Linked DNA regions of Homo sapiens: region 2 is linked to region 1. Evidence: promoter capture Hi-C in human tissues and cell types (Jung and others, 2019). All regions are on one chromosome and are shown on one strand. Each heading gives the region's core, a stretch centred on a gene start or on the middle of the fragment in contact. The rest is flanking DNA. Distances are from core to core; before and after follow the strand shown. Region 1 holds the start of TSR3 (TSR3 ribosome maturation factor). Region 2 overlaps MEIOB (meiosis specific with OB-fold).

Region 1 (4,594 bases), core at 187-2,686:
CTTTGCTGCGAAACAAACATTCCCACCAAGACTGCCCCACGCCTCATCAGGGCCTCTTTAGATCAGCAATTCAGTAAGGAGGACGTGGAGGATAAGGAGGATTCTCTGGGCAGTGGTGCCCTGATAATGAATGGCACCCCACACACCGGCCCTGATAGAACAGCGATCCCATTCTGCCTCTACTGCAACTCCACAGGCCGAAAACCTGAAGTGACAGTTGGGGCTGGAACCGTGGTCTGTCTGAACTGTTCCCCTGTCCGTCCCTTATGCTCCTCCTGGGGTCTGTCGGCAGGAAACATGATGCTGGGAGCATAGCAGGAACAGCAGGCCGCCGGGTCACACTGCTGTGGGGCCCCTGGACTCACCTACGATGCAGAAGGTGGCAGCAAACGCTTCCACGCAGGAAAGTCTGTAGGGCCGGCCATAGTTCACGGGGTTGGCGGCCACCAGGTAGGGCAACAGGCGCAAGTGGCTCCCTCGCATCTTCCCAAACGGTGTCTCGTCCAGCCTGGCCCAGGAGCAGTCGATGACGGCGACCCCAGACTGCGCCACCAGCTGTCTGCCAGGGACAGCATGGGATAAGTTCAGGAGCCAGCACTACCCAAGGTGGAGCATGCCCCGGAGAATGGCCTAGCTAAGGGATTCAGGGACATCATTCCGCCATCCCCAAACACCCTCAAACGGACTTCACGAGCAAGCTTTTGAGGCAGCTGCTTGGGGCACCTGGAGCATGTGTTTATTCACTCAACAAACGTTTATTACCCCAAAACCTCCTTTATCCCAGGCTCTGCGCTACGCAACGGAGGCAAACTAGACAGACGTTCCCTGCCCACGTGGGTGTGGATGTGGGTGCGACATACAAGTGCCACTAAACCATCCCTGAAGGGAACCACGCGCTGGAAATGAAGACGACCTCGGGCAGGCCTCCCGCGCCTACCTGTCTGCGGGGGACGCGTACTGCTTGCCCACGGGGCTCAGCACCAGACCGCCGAATCTGTGGCCCAGGCGCAGGCAGCGCACCAGCCCCAGGCGGGCCAGCTTGCGGCCCGTGCAGCGCCGGGGGTCGCAGTGGCCCAACTCCCACATGGCCAGCGTGCAGGGCAGCGCCGCCGGGCCCGGGCCGCCCTCGCCGTCAGCCGCCCCTGGCTCCACGGAAGCTGCACGAGAGAGAGAAGGGCACTCGGCCTCAGCGTGGGACCCCCGGGCAGGCCCTCAAACCCTGACCCGCTCTCCCCATCACGCCTCGCTCACCCTGCAGCGCGGCGCCGACCTCCTCGGCGAAGGCCTCCAGGGAGCGCGTCGGGAGGTGCCGAGGGCGGCCGCCTTCCGCCCCCGGCCCGCGCGCTGCCCTCCTGCGGCCCATGGCGCGGACCTGGGGTGCCGGGGACTCCCCACCCCACGGCCGCGCCCCTCGGCCTCCCAATGGGCTGTGCGGCTGCCAGCGCTTGCGCCGGACGCCACTTCCGGTCCCCGTGGTCACGTGACCGTCACTTCACGTGACCGCGCGGCGGCCGCTGCGGCGCGATGGCGGCGGGGCTGGCGCGGCTCCTGTTGCTCCTCGGGCTCTCGGCCGGCGGTGAGTGGCCCGGCCGTCCGCGTCCCCAGGCCCCGCGCGCGCTCTGCACCCCGGCCTCCCCGCTCACGGTCTCGCTCCCCGTAGGGCCCGCGCCGGCAGGTGCAGCGAAGATGAAGGTGGTGGAGGAGCCCAACGCGTTTGGGTGAGCAGCCTCGCGGGCTGGCGGCTCGAGCGGGGGACGGCCCGGGCCCGTTCCCCGCTGACCTTGCCGCTTCCCGTAGGGTGAACAACCCGTTCTTGCCTCAGGCCAGTCGCCTCCAGGCCAAGAGGGATCCTTCACCCGTGTCTGGTGAGTGAGGAGCGCTGTTGGCCGGCGCGGGGGTGGCCGCGGGGAGCAGCAACAGTGGAGGATGGATGAGTGACCCTGAGAGTTACGGCCCGGAGTCTAAAGCATTGGTTTGTCAGCCTTCTAAAATTAATGTGGAAGTACGAGAGAATATACCAGAACGTTCTTGTAGCGAATTAAATTATCTCCAGACTTAGTCCTTCCTTTCCTTTCCGAGAGGTAACTGCTGTTAATAGTCTGGTGACTTTGCAGACGCGTTTCTGTGCTTTTACGTGCGTGTCTATGCAACTGGAAAACGTATAGTTTTTGTAATCTAATCGCTTTTTTAAAAAATCATGCTGCGCGAGTATTTGGCTGATTTGTCGTTGTCACTCGCTGTATCTCTCGGGACGCTTCATGGTGATGATATAGGTCTTCGTTCTTTCTCTTGGTGCTCAGCACGCGATAGGATGGCACTGCACTCCCCGATTGTATTTAGGTTCTTGCCATTTTTTTGGCCATTAGAAATAGTTCTGTGGAGAACATGCTGTGTAGGTGCTTTGGTTTGCCCTCAGGTGAGCGGTTTCCCAGTGCAGGATTCCAGAAGTGGAATTGGTGGGTCATGAGTATATATATCATTTAAACGCTGAATGAGTATTAAATATAATAGACAAAAATCCAAGAATTTTTTTTTTTTTTTTTTTGAGACAAGAGTCTCGCTCTGTCGCCCAGGCTGGAGTGCAGTGGCACGATCTCGGCTCACTGCAACCTCCGCCTCCCAGGTTCAAGCGATCCTCATGCCTCAGCCTCCCGAGTAGCTGGGATCACAGGCATGCATCACCATCACGCCCAGCAAATTTTTGTATTTTTAGTAGAGATAGGGTTTATTTCACCGTATTGACCAGGCGGGTCTCGAACTCCTGACCTCAAGTGATCCGCCCATCTCGGCCTCCAAAAGTGCTGGGATTATAGGCGTGAGCCACCGCGCCCAGCTTTAGTAATTTTATTATCGAATACCTTTATGTGTTAGGGTCTGTGCTGGGGTTGCAGAAACGAACACAGATATACCAATGCTTGTCCTCATGGAGCTGACAGTCTAATGGGGAGGGATGGAGGAACAGGCACTGAGCCTGTAGAATTAGATAAAATACATAGAATGGCCAATGATGAAAAATGCCATGTAGATGTGTGAAGCAGAGGAGGGAGTGTGTGTATGTGTGTTAGAGTATTGTTTGGGGGATCGCTTTTTTTATTTTTTAGAGACGGGGTCTTGCTCTCTCACTCGGGCTGGAGTGCAGTAGTGCAATCATAGCTCACTGCATCCTTGAACTCCTGGGCTGAAGCAATCCACCAACCTCAGCTTCCTGAGTAGCTGGGACTACAGGTGCACGCCACCATGCCCGGCAAATGTTAAGTGTTCTTGTAGAGATGGAAGTCTCACTATGTTGCCCAGGCTGGCCCCAAACTCCCAGCGTCAAGCAATCCTCCTGTCTTGGTGGGGATTGCTTTAAATAGGGTGCTGAGGAAAAGTCTAAGAAGTGACATTTCAGCCAAAAGCTAAAGGAGAAAAGGGAGTAAAGCTGTGGCTATTTGGGGAAAGGGATCCAGGAAAGGGAGTGGCCAAAGGCCTTGAGCAGGACAGCCAGGGCCAGAGGGGATTCAGCTGGGGTAGCCACAGATCAGAGATAAAGGGGATCAGATGGTGCCGCACCGTGTTGGTAGGTTTGGTGGACTTTGACTCCAAACACATCTTTTTAAGTTTTTTGTTGTGTGGCTGGGCGTGATGGCGCACCTGGGGTTAGGCTCACTTCCCTGCGGCTCAGAAGCCATGGGATGGTGGCTTCCCAGGGCCTGAAGTGCTGGAGTCGGGCCACCACCTATCCCAAGAAGCTGGGGAGGAGGCAGGCCACTGTGTAACAGCGCAGTTCCCGACCGAACCCCTTCCAGTAGGAGAGAGGCAGCCTTGGCTAATGGGACCACGTCTTTTTGGAGGTGAGAGTCCTGGAAAGAAAACAGAATATGCTGGTCGTGGTGGTGCGTGCATGTTGCTCGGGAGCCTGAGGTGTGACGATCGCTTGAGGTCAGGAGTTCGAGACCAGCCTGGCCAACATGGTGAAACCCCGTCTCTACTAAAAAAAACCACAAAAACAAAAGTTAGCCGGGCATAGTGGTATCCTCCTGTAATCCCAGCTGCTTGGGAGGCCGAGGCTGGAGAATTGCTTGAATCCAGGAGGCGGAGGCTGCGGTGAGCTGAGATCATGCCCCTGCACTCCAGCCTGGGTGACAGAGCAAGACTTCGTCTCAAAAAAAAAAAAAAAAAAAAAAAACCCATAAAAATTTAGAAAAGAATACCTCTTCTAGTTTTCCCACCCCCATCCCCACATCAGGGCCAGTCAGGTTCACATGTGCATTTGGTTCATTATGTGTCTTTAGTGTTTTAATTTGGAACAGTTCTCTTCCCACCTTTGGATGTAAGTGGCACATTTGTTTCCCAGTTTCCTGATCTTTTTGTTTTGTTGATGGTGTTTTTCTCCAGACCATTTTTTCCTGCGCCTGTGGGGTCAGGCGTGGATAGTCCCCCGCGTCTGTAGGGCTGGGCGTGGATACTCCCCCGCGTCTGTAGGGCCGGGCGTGGATTGTCTCCCACGTCTGTGGGGTGGGGCCGGGCGTGGAAAGTCCCCCGCGTCTGTGGGGTGGGGCCTGGATACTCCCCCGCATCTGCGGGGTGGGGCGTGGATCGTCTCCCGCATGTG
Region 2 (5,293 bases), core at 843-3,342, 510 kb after region 1:
CCCAAAGTGCTGGCATGAGCCACCGTGCCTGATGAGACAAGGTTTTTTAGTAGAGGTGGGGAAGAACAGAGTGAGACCCTGTCTCAAAAAAAAAAAAAATAAATTTTAAAAATAATTAAAATAAGTTATTTCAAAACAAATTATGTGCTACTTAATGAGGACCACTAGGGGTCAGCAAATACTTTTTTTCCAAAATAGAAATTTCATATTGGTTTTGCTAATTAAAAATTACAACCTGGCTGGGCGCAGTTGCTCCTGCCTATAATCCCGGCACCTTGGGAGGCCAAGGGGGTAAGATTGCTTCAGCCAAGGAGTTCGAGACTGGGCAACAAAGTGAGACCCTCTGTCTCTACAAAAACTCCAAAAATTATTCAGGCATAGTAGCATGGACCTGTCTGGGCTACATGCGAGGCTGAGGCAGGAAGACCACTTGAGCCCAGGGTTGAGGCTGCAGTGAGCTGTATTCACATTGCTGCACTCCAGGCTGAGTGACAGAGCAAGACCCTATCTCAAATTTTTAAAAAAAGTAATATAACTCAACATACATGTAAATTATAGACATATTCTGAACTGTCTATTAGTGTTTACCTCTGGGGAGAGGACTAGGATGGCAAGAGTGAGGAGCTGAAAGGGGAATTTCACTTTTCAAATCTGTGACCTTTGGTACTGCTGGAATTTTTGATACAAATATAATGTTATATGTACAATGTTTTAAGTCAGTAAGCATACTTCTTCCAAAAAAGGAATACCACAGATGTCATCATAAAAAGAAGTCAAACAACACAGAAGTTTTTCTCCTTCCCTCACAGTCTGATAGGTGAAAAACTGTGAATTTCTTTTTCTTTTCTTTTTTTTTTTTTTTTTTGAGACAGAGTTTCACTCTTGCTGCCCAGGCTGGAGTGCAATGGCGTGATCTTGGCTCACTGCAACCTGCGCCTCCCAGGTTCAAGCGATTCTCCTGCCTCAGCCTCCCGAGTAGCTGGGAATACAAGCGCCTGCCACCATGCCTGACTAATTTTGTATTTTTAGTAGAGAGGGGGTTTCTACATGTTGGTTAGGCTGGTCCCAAACTCCTGACCTCAGGTGATCCGCCCACCTCAGCCTCCCAAACTGCTGGGATTACAGGCGTGACCACTGTGCCTGGCAAAAAACCGTGTATTTCATTTTTATAATTTTAGCAAGTATTTTAATAACTACTTTTTTCTAATTCACACATTTTAAGTGATGCCTTCTGAAATTTGGTAAAAGGAGATATAGACTTCCTCAAACTATTTATTTAGTATTTCTGATCTAATTAGTTAAGATGAAATAAAGTGCAGGCACAAATGATATGGGTACCAGATGACAGCTTGGTTATTTACCTTAAAGATAAAAGCATCATGCCTGTAATCTGATCACTCTAGGAGGATGAGGTGGGATGATCACTTGAGCCCAGGAGTTTGAGACCAGCCTGGGCAACAGAGCAAGACTCTGTCTCTACAAATTTTTGTTTTTTTTAAATCAACCAGGGGCTGGGCATGGTGGCTCACACCTGTAATTCCAGCACTTTGGGAGGCCGAGGCAGGGAGATCACTTGAGGTCAGGAGTTCAAGACCAGCCTGGCCAAAATGGTGAAACCCCATCTCTACTAAAAATACAAAAATTAGCTGGGCATGATGGCATGTGCCTGTAATTCCAGCTACTCGGGAGGTTGAAGCAGGAGAATCGATTGAACCCAGGAGGCAGAGGTTGCAGTGAGTCGAGATCGTGCCATTGCACTCCAGCCTGAGTGACAGAGCGAGCCTCCATCTCAAAAAAAAAAAGAGAGAACACATGTACTCAAATATACATATATACACACACGTGTACACACATACACACACATACACATGCACACACATACACACGTGTGTGTATACACATAAACATATATACACATATGTGTGTATGTATACATATATATAGAGAGAGAGAGAGAATGTGGGAGGGAGGGAGAGAGAAAGCCTTGAATCAGGTACTTGACCATCCAATAGAGAGCATGACCATTGCTCTTAAGGAGTTAAACAGGCATAGAAAAATTAATCACTTCAATATACTTTGTTGTAGTCATAAGCCAAAGTTGATGAAAAATGAAACCAAGAGTTAAACAGAACTCAGCTTTTTCTGTCTGGAAAGCCTTTGACATCTGTTTTCCCAATAACTATACCGATAACTTTCTGAAAAACAAAAAGGTCACAGAAGACCAATATTAAACACAGATGTACTTGATAAATTTAATTTCATGGGCTTGTTATACTTTACTGGCTCTAACAAACATTTCTGACTAGGAACCATTTAAATGTATTTATTCCAGGCAAACATCTAAAAGAAGTTCATAAATGTTCAATTCCACAAGGAATAGTATAAAGTAATCCAAAAGTTAACTACTATTACAAATATAATCATTTAATACTTAGCATATTTCTACTTTATTTTCAATCACCAGATGGAGCATAATAACTGCCCTATGCTATCAATCCTTACTGAATTCATCCAAAGCACATGTATAATGCAATTTAATTTGCCACAGTCTTCAAAGCTTTCCTTTATATAGGGTTTTCTAACAATCCACATAAAATCACTTAGCTTCTTAATCCAAACATGCTGGACAGTAATATAAATTAGACTGTAACAAAACTTATATTTTGCTGCTAATAAATCTAAATTCTAAAGTCCTAGATCTTAAAACTTAGAGATATTAACATCTCCTCAAAATGTTTAATGTTCTCTTTAGTGACTACTGAAGAAAAATTTTAAATGTGTTTTAAGAAATAAAAATGGGCCGGGTGTGTTGGCTCACACGTGTAATCCCAGCACTCTGGGAGGCTGAGGCGGGTGGGTCACCTGAGGTCATGAGTTTGAGACCAGTCTGACCAACATGGTGAAACTCCATCTCTACTAAAAATACAAAAAATTAGCCAGGTGTGGTGGTGGGTGCCTGTAATCCCAGCTACTCGCGAGGCTGAGGCAGGAGAATCGCTTGAACCCAGAGGCACAGGTTGCAGTGAGCTTAGATCCCACTATTGCACTTCAGCCTGGGCAACAGAGCAGGACTCCATCGCAAAAAATAAAAATAAAAAAAAAATAATAAAAAATAAAAATGAATACCTTTTCTGAAAGGAAAAAAACTAAACTTATTTTGCTAATTGCAGCAACTGATTTTAACCTTACAATAATCTTGACATTTAAATTACAATCAGGCTTTTAAGACTCCTACATTCTAGCTGAGCTATTAGCTAGCTTTATTGCTTATTTAGACACATTGATATTATTTCTTCAATTCCTTATACTTGCAGATCTCACTGAATTTTGTTGGAAAATCCAATTAATGGAAATGTTGAGTAAAACTTTCTATCTGAAGAGACCATTATTAGCAAATAGTTTACCTTTCAAGAAAAACTATAACAACAATTGTTATTTTTTAATATTTTAAAATTTTAAATTATTAAAGTTATATGTAAATGTATCCCATTGTAAGAAATCTAGTTTGCAAAAGCAAAATATAAATAGCAGAGTGCTCAGGGGCAGGGAAGGTAAGGGTGTGTGGTAGCTGCTTTACAATAAGTTCTTTAACTTATAAGATGATTCCACTTAGTTTTCTTTTAAGTAAGTAACAGTCGAGATGTGTTCAAAATCATTGAATTCCCCTATAACTCCTACTCAAAGAGTCAATTTTCACATCATCATTGTAGAAAACACACATGTTATAAACCTATATCATAAAAGCAGCATAATGTCAAGTACTTAGACCATAAATTGGATAATTTGGTCAGAAAATTGCTACTGCTGAACAAAATGGTTTAATTTTTTTTTTTTTTTTTTTTTTTTTTTTTTTCAGAAGAGTTTTGCTCTTGTTGCCCAGGCTGGAGTGCAATGGTGCGATCTCGGCTCACTGAGACCGCCTTCTGGCTTCAAGCGATTCTCCTGCCTCAGCCTCCTGAGTACCTGGGATTACAGGCATGAGCCACCACACCCAGCTAATTTTGTATTTTTAGTAGAGATGGGGTTTCTCCATGTTGATCAGGCTGGTCTCAAACTCCCAACCTCAGGTGATCCAGCTGCCTCAGCCTCCCAAAGTGCTGGGATTACAGACATGAGCCACTGTGCCTGGCCTGGTTTAATTTTACAATGCTAAATTTGAGCATTTATTAAATTTTTCACTTTATAAAATATTAAGTAAAATAATACATCTATTGATCATTTTGAACAATTACTAGTCAAATCTACAATCATATCTTCTACTCTACACACAAAGATTAATTTTCATCTAGGTGGCATAAATACAAAGAAATTTAGGTATACTTAATATCTAACAATTATACCAATGCAATGAGTATCTATATACTTGCCAATTATAAAAGCATGTGTTGAATGAATCAATAACATTGATGTAATGTTATCACATAAAATGTCATCAGTAAGCAAATCACCACATTATTGAAACCTACCAGATTAGCCATATTTGTCTGCAGATCTGAAAGGGTAGTGAAAATCCTCGCTGCAAAGGAGTTTGCCATTTTTTTAATCTGCATTTTAGAAAATATAATTTAGATATATAAATTGAATAAATGAAATAAATCATTTAAAAAATTCCAAGAGTTTAAAATCTTATTTAGGGCCGGACATGGTGGCTCATACCTGTAATCCCAGCACTTTGGGAGGCTGAAGTGGATGGATCACCTGAGGTCAGGAGTTCAAGACCAGCCTGGCCATCATGGCGAAACCTCACGTGGTAGCGGGCACCAGTAATCCCAGCTACTCAGGAGGCTGAGGCAGGAAGAAGTGCTTGAACCTGGGAGGCAGAGGTTGCACTGAGCCGAGATCGCACTACTGCACTCCAGCCTGGGCAACAGAGCGAGACTCTGTCTCAAAAATAAATAAAACAAAATAAAATAAAATAAAATAAAATATTATTGGCCAGGTGCGGTGGCTCATGCCTATTATCCCAGCACTTTTGGAGGCCGAGGAGGGCGGATCACAGGGTCAGGAGATCGAGACCATCCCGGCTAACATGCTGAAACCCCGTCTCTACTAAAAATACAAAAAATTAGCTGGGCTTGGTGGCAGGCACCTGTAGGCCCAGCTACTCGGGAGGCTGAGGCAGGAGAATGGCGTGAACCCGGGAGGCGGAGCTTGCAGTGAGCTGAGATGGCACCACTGCACTCCAGCCTGGATGACAGAGCGACACTCCATCTCAAAGAATAAATAAATAAAATAAAATAAAATATTATTTAGGAAAGCACTGGATAGTTTACTGCTTTGGAAAATTTTTATT

What was found. Contacts are between HindIII fragments. The study calls those that stand out against the background at their distance.
Region 2: a contact is called between a fragment that was not itself captured here and the fragment with the promoter of TSR3 in region 1, in 1 of the 25 tissues and cell types used here (lymphoblastoid cells).

The regions. Positions count from the first base shown.
Region 1 is chr16:1,350,442-1,355,035 of GRCh38, forward strand. TSR3 (TSR3 ribosome maturation factor) reads right to left here and starts at 1,437. Exons shown (of 6, transcript NM_001001410.3): 1 at 1,252-1,437; 2 at 938-1,157; 3 at 366-559. The coding sequence starts at 1,363. It overlaps GNPTG (N-acetylglucosamine-1-phosphate transferase subunit gamma), which reads left to right and starts at 1,490. Exons shown (of 11, transcript NM_032520.5): 1 at 1,490-1,576; 2 at 1,661-1,718; 3 at 1,798-1,865. The coding sequence starts at 1,525. RefSeq lists a silencer at 1,015-1,714. The HindIII fragment of the contact is 21,021 bases long and covers 1-4,594 here.
Region 2 is chr16:1,863,641-1,868,933 of GRCh38, forward strand. MEIOB (meiosis specific with OB-fold) reads right to left here. Exons shown (of 14, transcript NM_001163560.3): 2 at 4,467-4,544; 3 at 2,138-2,195. The coding sequence starts at 4,535. Among named protein-coding and RNA genes, the nearest start is that of MEIOB, 5.9 kb to the right of the region's middle. The HindIII fragment of the contact is 4,524 bases long and covers 1-4,354 here.